Linked DNA regions of Homo sapiens: regions 1 and 2 are each linked to region 3. Evidence: promoter capture Hi-C in 16 types of primary human blood cells and fetal thymus (Javierre and others, 2016). All regions are on one chromosome and are shown on one strand. Each heading gives the region's core, a stretch centred on a gene start or on the middle of the fragment in contact. The rest is flanking DNA. Distances are from core to core; before and after follow the strand shown.

Region 1 (3,168 bases), core at 416-2,915, 1.5 Mb before region 3:
GTTTAACCTGTTTTACAATTGTAGCACTATTTTATCAGCACAATTGTGATAGTATATTTAATGAAATACACTGCCTGTCTCCCAAATATTGAATAGTACATATACTAAAAAAAAATTTGTATCTGAAATTCAAATTTATCTTAGTGTCTTCCTTTTTATATTTGCTGAATCTGGTGACTGTGTGAATGACAACATTGCTATCAAATGACAGTTATTTTTAATGGTAAAATTGTAGAGGGACTCAAAATTAAAAAAAATACTAAAGCCAAAAAGAGTACAAGCTTTGAGCACCCTAGAAAAGCAGCACTTCCCGGGTTAAATAGTGCCTCCATGGCTCATCAGTTTATAATTTCAGGTTGTTGCCTTTGAAGGTTCATGGTTACTGTTCATTAATTGCTATTTTATCTCTCCTGTTTGTTTTAAATTTGTGACTAAGATCTTCGACATTGAAATCAACAACAATTTTATAAGAATTTTATTTTTCACATCCCTTTTTGATTGCAGAAGGACATGAGGTCTATTCCTTGTTTGCTTACAGTGAATGTGACTTCATTTACCCTTGTTTAAAGTTATTTTAAATAATATGAACTCAATTTTCAGTGTCACACAATGTTGTCAGTTGCTGGATTTGTGCCCATTCAAACTGAGTTAAGTCACCAGTGGTCACAGAGGAGACTTTCTTCTGGTACTAAGTAAACAAGCTGAGAAAGAGAAAGGGAAACTATGTTTATGGCCGTGTAACTAAGTTACAGTAATAAGATTTGTCCTGTACGAAGCCTGGATGAGTTAAAATACCTTCTGAGTCAAGTGGTCACTCATGGGAAATAACTCTCCTGGGACACTGGAGCATGAATTAGTGATCTGAAGAGGCAATTAATCTCAAATGAATGAGCACTTGGCTTCTAGATTGCTCTCTATTTATGTTACAGTTTTTTTAGAATAAATGTAGGTTAACCTACAGTGTAGTTTTATGTAGATTAGCCAAAAGTCCATGTTAATTCAAGACAGTGTCTCTAAGAAGCAAAAAATATTTTAGCATATTGAAAAAAAAAACCTGCAAGTTGGTCATGGAATCTAAAATAGAGATACAACTAATATTCCTCTCAACAAATTAGGAGAGTCACAATAAAGCAAAAAAGAAGCAGTTTATTCTTTAGGGCTACCAGAACTCGTGGCCTGCTTCTTAAATTAATTCTGGCTTTCATTTTAAAGTGACATTTATTTTCATGGGCAAGTTAAAGACTCTGTAGAAGCCTACTATGAGAACCCCTTTTCTGATACTGTATTATGAAGGATAACTGAAAATCACTGAGATTAACTAATTCCATAAGTTGTATGAAAAAACTATTACAGTCATTTCCAATACTAGATCCCCAGTGTTGTAGGTACTGTTTAGTCCCAACCAGCAGAAAGAGCTATTGTAAGTCCAGGATTGCCTTTAGCTATTAGCTTTTCCAGTATGCCCCTCCATTTCAGAGTGAAAAATAACCTAATGCTACAATGAGTGTCCTTTTCATGAGCATATATATGTATTTCTTATTCATACATACACACACACACCCCCCTTGTGGACAAACCTTCTAACAACAAAATAGCTATATATTTGAGATATGTTATCTAATTTAAAATATTGCATTAAAATTTATTCACAAATGTGACTGTCTCAAATGGATAAGAACCTCTAATTTTGCACTTAGGATTTTGCCAACTTTATTGAACATCCTCTATATTTAAAAAGATAGGCTGCAGTGATACATTTGGCCAATAGGTGGCACCATTTAATTACCTTGAAATTCCTCAAATTTGAGGCTTGTAGTTTGGCCAAGAAAAAAAAAATTACCTTATCAATTCTGCATGTTTGAAATGTAAACCATTTAGAAAGAAAAGTTCCTGTACATTGATAATTACTTCATTGTTTTGACTTTTTAGAAACTAGCATTTTTTTCTAGTGCTATTTCCTAGATGCCATTACTTGAGCTATGAAATAGAAAATGAATGCCTGATGCAGGGTCATGTTGTTCAATCATTATACATGTAATTTTTATCATTTTTAAAATTGTGAGTTTCTAGAAAAGTATCAATCTGTGTCACAATACAATCTAGTGTCTTGAATCAGAAGAAAGATAAGGGAGCACTCCTAGGCACTTAGGGAAATAAGGCAAGAGGCAGCAAAAAGACCTGGTGTGAGATGGTCAAATTCTTTCTCACCAGCACGCAGTCAAGAAATCCTGGAATTGGGAGTACTGTGTTTAGTCAAAAGATCCGACATGATCTGAGATTTAAAATTAATTTTTAGTTGTTAAGCAATTATTTAGTGCCTCCATTCCTGCCAAAAAAAAAAAAAAAGCGGGGGGGGAGTGTGGCTCTGACATGAAAGCAAAAAATTAGTAAGGGTAAACTATTGAACTTTAGAAGTGTAGTAATGTATTATGGTGTTACAGAGTCATTAAAAACATACTATGTGAAATGCAGAGAAACTGCATGAAAAAATGAACCAATTCAATTTTGTCATGTTACTATGCAGTATTTAGAACAGACCATGGCAAAATCCAAAGTGTCTTGTGAATAGTAAAAGAAAACTCAAGATTTATAATTATTTTAATATTAAGAAATTATATTCTAATTATTTGAAAAGTTATGTGGGAATAGACACATTGAACTTCAAGGTCAAAGTAAGTAAGTAACATAACTTCACACAAATAATAGCCTTGTAGACAAGAAAAATAAAAGAGTATAAAAATATTGATTTGGGAGGTCTTAAAAATTGTCTAGTCCTGCCCTTTATTTCTTGGATGAGAAAACTCAAGCCTTGAAAAGTTTAATGATTTGCCCAAGGTTAGAATTGGCAAATCTAGAATACAGCTTTTCTGGGTCTTAGTCCATGAACTACTTCTTGTCTAATTGGCAATTTCTGATAATTCAGGTAAGTGACTTTAACATTTTATTTTTTATGAAAAAAATTTTTAATTACAGTATAGACTTTTATAATTCCATCAATTTGCATTACATGGTAATGTATTTGCAATGCAGTCTTAATTAGGAAGCTTCTCCACTCTGAAAAGGGAAACTCATTGTACTCTTTATTTGAGCAGCTCTGCTCCATTTATTGTATCGGTGATTATATAAATGGCAAGAAGTTCTGGCTAGTGGTAGTGCCAGGACTAATAA
Region 2 (3,247 bases), core at 723-3,222, 1.6 Mb before region 3:
GAAGGAAAAAATAGGTTGGATATTAGAATACTGTACTTTGTGAAAAGGAAATAGAATAATTCTCAGGTGTCAGATGGCTGGATTTTTCCAACATCCTGGTAACTGATTTTCACACCACCTCTCTACTCCTCCTCCAGTCCATTTTTTATACTGCCCTTAGTGGTACATTTCTTAAAACAGCCTTTGTTTTTGTCAGTTTGCTCTGACTCTTTCCTGCCTACAAATTAAAATTCCGACTTACTATCTTGATGTAACAAGCCCTTTACCATCTGTGTCAAATATACAGTCTTTTATAGTTGCCCATAAGTTCAATTTCAAACCTTTTTTTAATTGCATTCTTATACCTACCCTCACTGAATTTGTCACTCTTTGAAATATGTCTTTATTCCTTTGTTCCTGAAAGTCACTCATTGAAATGCACCTTTTCCCAAGCAAATTTTTACTGTATTCAAAATTTAGTATATCCTCCATGAAATTTATTACCTTTTCTCCCAAGGATTTCTTAACAATTATTCAGATCTTTTCATAGCATTTCACAGATGATTTGATATTTGTTTTTACATCTTTTTCACTAAACTGAGAGTTGCCAATGTCTGTGTGTATGTGTGTTTTTAATACAAATATCCGGATAGTGCATATTTTAGGCTTTGTGGGCCACAGAATATCTCTTGTAACTACTTAACTCTGCCATTGTCGTGGGAAAGTGACCATAGGCAGTACATAAATTAGTATGTCTATGTTACAGTAAAACTTTATTTACCAAAACAGTGGGCTGTATTGGGAAATCGTTCGCCAATCCCTGCATTAAATTGTTCTGACCCAAGTACTTTGTTAAAAAATTTATGAATGAAAGATTGTTAAAAAATTTATGAATGAAAGATATTTACACATTCATCCATTGTAATACATGACCTCACTGTCTAGTAAGTGAACATATAAGCAGAAAAAAATATACCACAAAGATACGTGCTGAAATGGAGAAAAGCAGACATTGCCATGAAACCACAATGAAAGGACAGTATGGGAGAGAATTAGCGCAATTTATAGCAGTAAAAGAAGAGAGAAAAGTTCGAAAGTAACAGATTTTGGTCCAAAGAGATGTCTTGAGAGTTCTTTATTGAGGATAGAAGAATCTTGTTAGTTGTGCTACCTTTTTAGTGTTGTGTCTAAATAAGACAACTTTTAGATGTCTATTCTCTCATGTGTGGCACTCTTGAATTCTAGCCTTTATTGAAAAGTACATAGGCTTTTACCCAAACTAACTTATTACTTGTTTTTTTAATTTTTATTTTTATTTTTAAAATTACAAATATATATAATGCTTTCATATAGTAGGTGTTCAGTAAAAGTAGAATAAATGTTGGTTTTAAAAGAACCTTGCAGTGTGAAGATTTGCCAGAGATTGTCTATGTAAGTATAACATTTATATTCAGAACAAATAGTTTTAATTTTGTGTCATTTCTAGGTGCTTTGTAACAGAGCCAGACTGGTTTCCTATCTCCCAGGATTTTGCTCTTTAGTTAAAAGGGTTGTCAATCCCAAAGCCTTTTCGACTGCAGGATCATCAGGTTCGGATGAGTCTCATGTGGCTGCTGCACCTCCAGATATATGTAAGTGAAAGTTGTTACTGCTTTACTTATAATTGTTTCAAAACATTTTTAGTTGTATTTTCCTCTAATATTTCTTCTTAAGGCTTAATGGATTTTTCTAAAGTTGTGTTTGTTCAGTTGAAAATGAATCACAGCTCTGCCTAAATATATTTATGTCAGAAAGCTACAGTATTGAAAAAAGAGTAAGTACTGGTTTCTAAAGCTTACTTCTTAAACTTTTCTTTCTGTCTTCAAACATAGAGTCTTCCCTGAAACAAATCTCCTTTTGGTCCTGTTAAACCATATTATTATTTCTTCCCATTCTTTGCTAGATTTCATAAATGTACCTTGTACTTTTTATGTGTTAGTGTTTATTGAACTTACCTGCTTTCTACAAAGTCTGTTTCTTCTAACCTGTTTGGTACACCACTACCATGCTAATCATTCTAAATTATTTTAACCATGTCCCTTTCTTGAAAAACCTGTTATCTTTCATTGCTTTCAGCAGTAGTTCCCAGACTACCTTCAAGCCATGAAGCTTTGTTCAAGGTTAAAAAGAAAAAGTGGGGGTAGGGGGATAGTCTCTGTGGTAGGTAAGTTTGAGAAATGCTACATGCCATATTCCTGCCTTGGAGGCTTATAAGGCACACTAAAATATTAAAGACTCTTAGAAACTTAACCTAATGTGTCCTAAAGATATTGGACATGGAATCCTTTTTTCATGGCACACATTACTTACAACGTAATTTAAGTTCACTTGAGCATTCAGAGCCTTCCATCCTGCCCAAGTTTTCTAACTCTCTGACTACTCCCCAATTTACATCACCTAAAGACTAACCATATATTTATAATAAATGAAAGATTTTGCCATTCAAATTATATAAGATGTTAGTATCTGGAATATATAAAGAATTTATAATAGATCAATAGGAAAAGATAACCCAACAGAAAATCAGAAAACAAAAGGACATGAATAGGCCTTTCACAGAAAACAAAACCTAAAATGACCAGTAAACATATGGTCAAATCCACTGCCCAAATCTACTATTAATATGGGATGCTTGTTTTCTGTAAAGAGAATCTAGGGATTGTTAGACTTTTAAAAACCATCTTGTTCAAAAATAGCTAACAGGTTTTCTCTTGGGAAGTGACTTGAGTAGTCATTAGTGGCTGTCTAGATAGAGCCTTGTTATTCAACATGATCTGCATCAGTATCATTTAGGAGCTTGTTAGAAATACAAAATCTTGAGCCCCACTCCAGACCTATTAAATCAGAATCTGCATTTAAACTAGATCCCAGATGTATCTTAAGTACATCTTTAGAGTTTGAGGGGCACTGGACTAGAGTGTTTATGTTGAGAATCTTGAGACGTTGTCTGGGTTCAGCAGGAAATGGTTCCATGATTGATGGGTGATGTATGTCCTAAGTGTGGAAGAGGGATATGGTGGCTCATGATCCAGGAATGAGACAGCCATGCTGACATGGCCATTCTCAGTTACTTAGTTCTCTGACAGGATATTTTTAAATATCTATTTTTATTGCTAAGTAATATGCATAGCAGTTGTCCCTCTGTTTCTCTAAGCCCAGATCTCTACTCTGAGTAATTATTAGTTTAATTTTCTACTTTATTCTTTTCTGAATCTTTCTGAATTTTTTA
Region 3 (3,089 bases), core at 146-2,645:
AATACAATCCAGATCCCGACATTTTCCCACTCAGAAACAAATGCAGTGGAGCTTTTCCTGGAGAAAAAGAGCTCTCCAATGAATTTTTTTTAAGTGACATCTAGAAAGTGTGCCTCTTTCTGTCTCTTTCCCTGGCGCCTCATTGGAGGAAGGAGGGGGTTGTTTTTGTATTCTCCCCCACTGGAGCAAGACACAATCAGATGTTAGATGGAGGAGAGAAACCACTTTTGACAACAGCAAATAAAAATAAAAGTGCCCTTCCTCCCCTGACAGGATGGGCACCCCACCTCACACACCCCTCCCTACTCCAACCCCTCCTTCACCCCCCCCAGCACCACCCCCTCCTCACCCCGGAGCTCCACTGCGTATGTGGTTTGGTGCTACTGTTGCCCCGGAGTGAAAGTCAGAGCCAGAGGAAGGCAATGAAGCCCCCACAGACACACTTACCTTTCCTGCCCCCCACTTTTGAGTGCCTTCCCTGGAGCTGTGGAGGATGACACAAAGGGTAATAAAGGGGGGGAGTGGAGGAGGAGGAGGCGAAGGAGGAGGAGGAGAGCTGGGGAAGTGGCTGCTCCTGGGTGTAGTGAGATGTCTCCAGCCAGGGCCAAGCAGCAGCAGTAGCAGCAGCAGCAGTAGCAGCAGCAGCAGCAACAGCAGCAGCAGCAGCAACAGCAGCAGCAAAGGGTCTGTGTTGCTAAGAGGCTTTTGGTTTCTTTCTCTCCTCCTCTCACGGCCAAAGAGGAGGAGGGTGGAGGGAGGGAGGCGAGTTGGAGGGGTGAGGGGGTAGGAGTCGTGGATGGGGGTTTTCGAAGAAGAAGAAACTCCTTCTCCTCTCTCAGGCTCAATCCCCCTCTCAGGGCTCAGGGCTGGAGGGTGGGGGAAGGAACTCAGCCGCCTTCCCCCCACCCCCCTGAATTCAAGGTTGAAGTGGGGTAGAATTAGTGTCCTGTCCCTTTAAAAATAGAAATAAAAGGTGCCCCCCCTCTGCCACTGCCTCTCTCTTCATCATCAGCTGCTGCTGCTGCTGGGGTCTCTCTGCTTGGGGGGGAGGGGGGGTTCGGGTAGAAGAGACGGGAGGCACTCACTGCGCATGTCCCTCTCTGACGGGTGGCTGGTTGGTTGAAGGCAGGAGGAGGGGGAGGGGAGGAAATGAGCTATTTTCCCAGAAGGCGTCGAGGCGCTAGCGACCCGGAAGACATTGTAGCGGGAGGTACAGGAGCGGGGGCGGGGAGGAGGAGGAAGTCGCTACGCTTTTAACACCCCCAGCTCCCTCCTCCTTCCTAAGGGAAAGTGGAGGAACGGAAGTGGGCGTGGACGGAGACGAAAGGAGGTCACGTGTTTGGGCGGGAGAGGGGCGGGGTGGGAGAGGTAGTGCGTGCGCGGGGCATGCCGGGAGTGGTTGTGTACGGTCCGCAGCGGCAGGTGAAGTCTAGCAGAGGACGCGGCCAGGCGATTCGGTGAAGCGATTCCTGCAGGCGTTGGTTCCCCTCTTTGACCTGGTAAATGCAGGCTTTTATGCGAGAGGTAATGGTGGGGGTAAACTTGCTGCAAACGAAGGCCAGGGGCGTCGGTGGCGCAAGGTGAATCGAAAGTGGGAGGATGGAAGGCTGTGGAGATTGGGAATTGGGAAGGGGGCAGGCTTGTATAGGCCGGGAAGGCCAGGACCAGGCGAGCTCCGTCTTGTGGCCACTCCCGCCCCGTGAGCTTGCCGAGGAATCCTTGACAAGTGCAGGGATCCTGAGTCTACCTCTGCATCGGGGTAGTAGGTGAGGAGCGTGACGGTCCGAGTGTAAGAGAGAAGGGAACTGTGAAGCCTCAGCAATTGACCCTCATGACTGCAGGACGGAGGACTTCTATCTAGGGACAGAGACAAGTCCTCTGTATGCATTTTGACCAGATGCATCACACGCGTTGCTCATATTGGATATTGCGCCCTTCATGCCTTACCTCTCAACCCTCCCTGGTATTCTGGAGTGGCTTTGGGGAAGGAGCAGGCAGGGAAGTCTTGAGTGGAGCTTCCCTCCATGTCTTGCGTTGTTGCTACAACACAAAGCCTTTGCTTTTTCTCGGAGAGGGATGTGGGATTGTGTAGTCCTTAATGTTGAGTTCTACGATTGATGAAGGAGAAGGGACGTGATCAAAGTTTCCCCTTATAGTGTAGATGAGAGTTTTAAAAGGACTGTTTTGTCAAGTTTCTTTGGTTACTATTCTTAGTTTTTGAGCCTTTGGTTTCCCAAATGCCAGCTGTTTTTGCTGAAAATAATGAATTTCTATCATAAAATTAGAATTAACTCAAAATATTTAAGAAAGGATTTATAAATTTACATTAGTAAAGCTTTTATAGTGAAACAGTGCTGGTTCTTTTTCATTGTTTTCATACAATCAATATAAAGCATCACAGTCTCAATATGTTTTGTAAAGATATTTTGAAGGAATATCATCTTTGTATGTTTTTTAAAAACCAAGAATCTAAAATTCTTCGTATTTATTATGTTGGTACTTAATTCTGTTGGGTGGGTTCTTTTTGTTTGTTTTTTGTTTTGAGACGGAGTCTCGCTCTGTCTCCCAGACGAGTGCAGTGGCGCGATCTCGGCTCACTGCAACCTCTGTCTCCTGGGTTCAAGCAGTTCTCCTGCCTCACCCTCCCGAGTAGCTGAAACTACAGGCATGTGCCACCACGCCTGGCTAATTTTTTTGTGTTTTCAGTAGGGACGGGGTTTCACCATGTTGGTCAGGCTGGTCTCGATCTCTTGACCTCAAATGATCCTCCCGCCTCGGCCTCCCAAAGTGCTGGGATTACAGGCGTGAGCCACCGCGCCCGGCCGGTGTAGGTTCTTTAGGTGTACACTATCAGTTAAAGTTACTAATTTTCCACGTTTTGCTTTCTGTAAGTTTGGGCAGTGGACCCCGTTTATGCATCATTGCTTAGCCCTTAGTATCTTCTGTATTGTGTACGGTAATCATGTCCGATGGAATCAAAACTAGACTCCTGTGCTTTAAAATTTTCTTTGTAGTGTAACCAATTGTCTGTCTTTATAGTGTAACCAATTGTCTGCCACTTTGTAATGAAAAAAAAAAATACCAGCAAG

Evidence for each region. Contacts are between HindIII fragments. The CHiCAGO score rates a contact against its expected background, and 5 or more counts as called.
Region 1: a fragment that was not itself captured here is called in contact with the fragment with the promoter of ORC4 in region 3 in 1 of 17 cell types (total CD8 T cells); the score reaches 5.8 in total CD8 T cells.
Region 2: a contact is called between a fragment that was not itself captured here and the fragment with the promoter of ORC4 in region 3, in 5 of 17 cell types (total B cells, naive CD8 T cells, total CD8 T cells and 2 more). The highest score is 14.0, in total B cells.

Annotation. Positions count from the first base shown.
Region 1 is chr2:149,560,080-149,563,247 of GRCh38, reverse strand. No RefSeq gene overlaps it. Among named protein-coding and RNA genes, the nearest start is that of MMADHC-DT, 26 kb to the left of the region's middle. The HindIII fragment of the contact is 2,763 bases long and covers 284-3,046 here.
Region 2 is chr2:149,580,490-149,583,736 of GRCh38, reverse strand. It overlaps MMADHC (metabolism of cobalamin associated D), which reads left to right. Exons shown (of 8, transcript NM_015702.3): 3 at 1,466-1,610. Among named protein-coding and RNA genes, the nearest start is that of MMADHC-DT, 5.2 kb to the left of the region's middle. The HindIII fragment of the contact is 315 bases long and covers 1,815-2,129 here.
Region 3 is chr2:148,019,043-148,022,131 of GRCh38, reverse strand. ORC4 (origin recognition complex subunit 4) reads left to right here and starts at 1,395. Exons shown (of 14, transcript NM_181741.4): 1 at 1,395-1,499. MBD5 (methyl-CpG binding domain protein 5) reads right to left here and starts at 1,041. Exons shown (of 14, transcript NM_001378120.1): 1 at 448-1,041. RefSeq lists enhancers at 874-973, 1,153-1,750 and a silencer at 1,324-1,483. The HindIII fragment of the contact is 3,631 bases long and covers 1-2,337 here.